2 separate regions of the Homo sapiens genome follow, and region 1 is linked to region 2. Evidence: promoter capture Hi-C in 16 types of primary human blood cells and fetal thymus (Javierre and others, 2016). All regions are on one chromosome and are shown on one strand. Each heading gives the region's core, a stretch centred on a gene start or on the middle of the fragment in contact. The rest is flanking DNA. Distances are from core to core; before and after follow the strand shown. Region 1 overlaps RNF150 (ring finger protein 150). Region 2 holds the start of CLGN (calmegin).

Region 1 (3,259 bases), core at 391-2,890, 460 kb after region 2:
CAGCTCATGTAGCAGTCTCTTGTGCTTTCTTCTTGTTTCCTTACTAGGCTGATAAAGCTGAAAGAGACTTAGAGATTATTTACTCAATAATTCTCTCAACCAAATAAGATAATGAATATAAAGCATTCATCCCTATTTCTGGCTCAAAGAAATCCTTAATAAAAAGTAGGCTATTGGTGATCATGATAAAGTTGAAGCTATTTAGTTGTTCATGATTATATTAACCCATCCCATTCACTTCATACGAAGGAGATAGATAAGAAACCCAGCATCTCATGTTGGTTGAATGGGATAATATTTACTATGTCAGTGCTGAGATTGGGTCTTCTAACTCTTTAAACAGTTTGTTTTTTTTTTTAAATGAAAAAATAGAGATGGGGTCTTGCTGTGTTGCCCAGGGTGGTCTGAAACTCCTGGGCTCAAGCAATCCTCCTGCCTCAGCCTCTCGAAGTGCTGGGATTACAGACATGAGCCACTGTGCCTGGCTTAAACAATTCATTTAAACGATTTATTTTCCCTTCTGGAGCAGATTCTCAAACTTCTTTTTAAAAGAGTCACATTCCCTTTTGATAAAATTAAAAATCTTATCCCTCCTGGTGAAGGTTTGACACCTCTATTCTCACACCTTTCAGAAGTACTGTGATTTTTCCTGAATCCTTACCTATCAGGAAGATTTTGTTGAATTCTGGAGTTGGTATTTTAAAAAATAATTTGCATTTTTTGTTTCCCACTTATAAAACCAAGTCATTACTTTATGTGATGTTTTTCTATACACATTCCTCCTAACCCCAATCATTGATTCAAAAGTTTGCAATCCCTAAATGCTTCATCTGGGTTTGGTACCTCTTTAAAAATCTCATGCTACTCTGAAGCAGAATTTTTTTTGGTGGGCGGAAAGAGAGATTTTTAAATGCTACAAAGGTACAGGGAATAATATAGTAAACCAAACTGCGGTGTCTCCATCACTAAGTGTCAATGCTTAATGATATTTAGGTCTCTGTCCAATGTCACTTTCTCAGATAAGCCCTCCTTGATTGCCTGCCCTAATTAATAGTCCCTGGTCATTCTCTAACTCCTTACTTGGCCTCATTTTCATTTTATTTTTGATAATTGAATCCTGACATTATATTCTATATTTCTTATCTTATTCAATAGGATGTAATCTCCATGAAGTCAGGAACTGCCTGCATTGCCCCAAGATTCCCCAGCATAGAAAGGAGGATCTGAATTTTACTAGGCTCTGAATAAATTTTTATTGAATGAATGATGTTTCATTTAAGCCTGCCTTTTTAATTAAGGCAAAACAAAAAACAAATAAAAACCCCCACATTAGCTCCTTTTGTGTCTCACCACTAGTTTCATATCCCCAACACAGCAACCACCACTCTGATTTGATATGAATTCTTCCAGTATCTTTCATGCAAATCAGTGTGTGTGTATGTGTGCAGGTAACAAAAAAATCAATGTACAAGTTACATAATGTTTTGTGTTAGCATTTTTTATACGAAAGAAAGCTTGCTATTTGTGTTATCCTGCAATTTACTTATTTTTCCTTATCTTGTTTTCAGATTTAATTCGTTATGTATTTAATTCTTGTTAACTGCTACAAAAAAAACTAGTCCATCTAAGAATATGCTATAGTTTATTCGTCCTTTCCCCAACAGAGAAACCTTTAGGTTATTTACAATATTTTTCACTATTATAACAATTTTTCCCTGTACATGTGTTGTGTGCTAAATGTTTCTGTTCCCCCAAATTCATATGTTGAAAGCTTAAACCCCAATATAATGATATTAGAAGGTGGGGGTTTGGGGAGGTAATTAGGTTTAGATGTGGTTATGAGGTTGGGGTGCCCATGATAGGATTAGTGTTCTTATAAGAAAAAGACTGGAGTTCACTCTCTCATCTCACCACTGAGGACACAGAGAGACAGCAGCCATCTTCAAGCCAGGAAGAGGTATCTCACTAGAAGTCAACCATGCAGCCATCCTGATCTTGGACTTCCCAGACTCCCGAACTGTGAGAAATAAATGTCTGTTCTTTAAGCCACCAGGTCTATGTTATTTGATGATAGCAGCCTGATAGACTAATACAATGTATCTTTTAGCAAGTTCTCCAAAAATGTTAGTTTCCTTTTCCCTGCCTTCTTTTCAGAGCTAAGAATACAAAATCACTTGCTTCTCCTAGGAAGGGACCTTTTGAGGAGTTTAATGCAGCTTCCAGATGCTACCACTTGTTTTGGCTTTCCAGAAAATAAGTGTCAAATTAATAAGAGAAATGAAGAGGTGTAAAGTACCATTTTAAATCACTGATCTCACTAAAGGTTAACTATAATGATAGCTAGTCACCTGTCTGCACCTATTATTATATTCCATGCTCATGGCAGGTGGCAATGAAGGTGGGATGTGTGAGTAGGAATAGCACTGGTAGAAAATGATAGATTTGGCCAAGAATTGTTCTAACACACTTTTTTTTATAACAGTGGCTATTATAATTTTATCACCATCATCACCATCCATTATATTTGATTTAGTTTCCAATGTTCTTGAACACATTTGAGCCCATTTTACAGCAGGCTACCTAACTTTCAGAAAGGCTATAGTTCTCTCAAAGTCTCAGAAAGAGCCAGTAGTAAGTGGCAGAACTAGGACTTGAACCTAGCTCTTCTGTTCTTGCTCCAGTAGGTTTCACGGTGCTCCATGAAGTCATACAGGTCCACAGAGCACCCCAAGGACCACTGTGGGAGGAACTGGGAAGGCTGGACAGTGGTGGAAAATGATAGTGGTGATGAGAAAATTGACAATAATAACTGCAACAAGCCCAGCTGAGACAGTTCTTTCCAAACTCCTCCATTCCTCCCCCTCCTTTAGCATTTAGCACAGTTGTCCTTCCGTATCCAGTATTCGTGGGGGATTGGTACCAGGACACTGCCCCCTATCAAAATCTGAGGATGCCCAAGTTCCTTATATAAAATGGTGTAGAATCTGCATATAATCTATGCACATCCTTTTGTATATTTTAAACCTGGGCCACCGACTGGTACCAGTCCATGGTCTGTTAGGATCTGGGCCACACAGCAGGAGGTGGGTGGAGGGTGAGTGAGCATTACTGCCTGAACTCCGCCTCCTGTCAGCAGAGCATTTGATTCTCATAGGAGCAGGAACCCTATTGTGAACTGTGCATATGAGGGATCTAGGCTGTGCATTCCTTGTGAGAATCTAACTAATGCCTGATGATCTGAGGTGGAACAGTTTCATCC
Region 2 (3,125 bases), core at 577-3,076:
TTTCACCATATTGGTCAGGCTGGTCTCCAACTCCTAACCTCAGGTGATCCGCCCGCCTCGGCCTCCCAAAGTGCTGGGATTACAAGCGTGAGCCACCGCGCCGGGCCTTCTTTCACTCTCAACACACCTATTTAACACACTTTTTGTACATGCTATTTCTTATAACTGCGATGCCTTTCTGCTGTTATTCAGTTTTAATGGCTGACTGAGGATCCGACCAACACTGGTATATTCCAGAAGTGGTGTTTGACAATCACCTATTACTTAAAGTTTTAGTTGTCATGTGGCTTCAGGAATGCAATGTAGAATGATATAATAAAAAGTACACCCAACATGGCACAATCGCACCAAGTTTCTAGTTTTATTATTAAAAAGACAAGTGATAAAAACTGCTGTGGGCCTGTTTTCTCATTTGTGACGTGAACTAGACAATCCAAAGATTCTTTAAAGTTCATAATTCTAGTTTTCTATTTAAAAACACCAGTATTTATTAGGTACTTAAAAAGTACTACAGCTAACTTACAACACTTCAATTTCTAGACAAATGCATCAACATACTTACATCATTTACACACAATAATTAACCTTATCAACTAGCTAAGACAGAGAGTACAGAATATCTTGTTCTGAGGATTTGGAGATGAGATCTAAATGTTACTGGAAGATCAAACCAATAAGACGTGAAGGCAAAACTCCAAACTGAAAACAGGTCAAACTTACAATGACCCAAAGGAGGGCTACCTCGAGTGATGTCGACATTTGTAAAACAAGCAAAATCATCAGATGAGATCGGGATTTTGCCTGCTTTTAAGCAACAAAAAGTTTATACGTTAATGAACTCTTTTCTAATTTGAGACTTCTTCCTGTGGCCACGTTATTTACCTTTTCTCTCCCAGTCCTGAGCTTTGGTTGCCATTTGCTTTTAACTCCCAAGCAAACACCTCCTCTTTGTTGCTTGGGCAGATGCTATAAATAAAATCAGCGAAAGTGTCTGATTGATGGTAAACAGGCCTGGGGCGATAATGAGTCTAGTAATTAGGGCCTCTCTGGATTCAACCCAGCCCTTTCGCCCGCCCCCCGGCGGCGCACAATGGGCTCTGCGCGGGTATCGAGGGAGCGGCCAACAGTCCCTGGCCCCACCGCCGTGAAGTGGGGTCCCTTCGCTTCCACATAGGTGGAGACTGAGACAGCCGAGCCTATTTTGATCTCGTTTGGGTTTCTGTAAGGAGCAGTCAGCAGAGTGAGCAGCGCCCAGACGCGCCCCGGGCCCCCTCTACAACCATTGGGAGAGCGCCCCGGGCTCAAGCGTGGAACGGGGCTGCAATGGCAACCGCTGGAATAACGGCCTCGGCTCCCGGTGGCTCCTCAAGCCCGCAGGGGAGGCCGGCCGGGCTAGGCACCTAGCTGTCCCCGTGCTCGTCCGCCCCAGCCCGGGCGCAGCAGGTGGATGCGGCGGTGCTGAAGACACAAAGGGTCCCAGGTGGCACCACCTCCTGCGTCCACCCACGGGGCCGCCAGAGCCCAGTCAAGACCCTAGCTCGCTGCAGCCCCATCGCCAGACTCAACATCCACCCTCACTTGGCCCCGACCGGTTCAGCCCTCTGGCGGCAAAGTAACGGGGTGCCTGGGGGAAGCAGCAACGACTCCGCTTCCTCACCCCAATCTGCGCGCAAAGGGCAGCGGGACAGCGGGAACGCGGCCTGCTGCTCACGCACCTCTCTTGCGGCCTGTTTTCGGCAGTGACAGCTCAGATGTCCAAGTCGTTGCCACTTGGTCCCCGCGTCTCTTCAGACCAGTCCCGCCGGCGGCCGCGCAGCAGCGACTACTAACCGCGCGTGCGCGTGCGGTGGCGGGCGGGAGGCGGTGGCGGCCCGAGGTGTGTGCTACGCGCTCCTGCTCCGAGGGGCTCAACCGCCTCCAGGGGGAGCCGCACATGGAGCCTGTGCCGCCGCCGGCCGGTTGTGGCCTGGACCCCGCTCCCGGGTTAGCCCAGGAGGAATTCCCCCTGCAAGTCCGAAGACTTTTCCTCCTCTGAGCTCCCGCCCTCTCTGCAGACCGTGCTACCTCCTGTTGCGCAATGATTGGGTCCTGAATTTTATGTAAATCATATTTATGAACAACGTCCAGTAATAAGTGCAGCAAGATTAGGGCTCTAGGTTTTCTCCAGAGTTCTAGATGTTAACAGATCTGCAGTCATGGTGATTAATAAGGAGCTTTCCTGTCTGGTGTGTGTATATGACAAATACAGATGCGTTAAGTGTTAATAAATACATTGTATATAAAACAATATGTTCTTTTTCTCTCGAACAACACTATTAATAAGAGCTGCTAACATTTATTGTGTTCATTGTGCTCTAAGGGGCTTACATTCATTGTTTAACCTTCGTGGCAACCCAGGTGATGAAACTGATGGCAACTTGCTCGAAGTTACACAACATGTAAACAGTGGAAACGGGATGTAAATCAGGCCTGTCTCTCTCAGAGCCTGTAGTTTCAAACACATTGAAATAAATCTTAGCATAAACGTAGTTTATGCTATGATTATGCAATCACAAGCTGCTTTGCCTTTTATATATTGGATCAATATTAATTTTACTACTTAATATTTTATAGTAAATCTTGACTTTGAATTTGGTATAACAATTTAATTTTATTGGAAGATTAATTAACAACATTTAATTGACTTGTGAGTCTAAGACCCTTGTTGAAGAGTTTCAATCTTAAGGGTTTGGTGGCATTCCGTGCACAACGTATCATTATTGGCTAGGGGTCAAGATCACTGAGTTTTTTCACATTGCTTCACTAATTAAGACCAGCATTTCTAAACTTTTGACTTTGTCATCTCTGGGAGAGTGTTTGGATAGTGTTAAAATTTACTGGTTAAAAAGACATTTTGTTTGAGATACTTTGTAACAATATTATACCCTTTATTTCTTTCTTCCGTCCTTCTGACTTCTATTATTCAACATACTTCTGTGGCCCATAACAAATACACTTGAACTGCTAGAGAGGGATTTTTTAAAGGATCCATTCAAAGTTTGCAGTGAGGAAGCTGAAAACTAAAAATGTAAGAATAGTGAATTTTTGCAAGATTTAGTAGTATCTTCTTGGTCACATAGTACTCA

What was found. The method cuts DNA at HindIII sites, captures the fragments that hold promoters and counts their contacts. A CHiCAGO score of 5 or more calls a contact.
Region 1: a contact is called between a fragment that was not itself captured here and the fragment with the promoter of CLGN in region 2, in 1 of 17 cell types (M1 macrophages). The highest score is 5.7, in M1 macrophages.

Annotation. Positions count from the first base shown.
Region 1 is chr4:140,888,696-140,891,954 of GRCh38, forward strand. The region is part of intron 6 of RNF150 (ring finger protein 150); the gene reads right to left. Among named protein-coding and RNA genes, the nearest start is that of TBC1D9, 130 kb to the left of the region's middle. The HindIII fragment of the contact is 257 bases long and covers 1,513-1,769 here.
Region 2 is chr4:140,425,822-140,428,946 of GRCh38, forward strand. It overlaps CLGN (calmegin), which reads right to left and starts at 1,827. Exons shown (of 15, transcript NM_004362.3): 1 at 1,716-1,827. RefSeq lists an enhancer at 984-1,033. The HindIII fragment of the contact is 13,619 bases long and covers 1-3,125 here.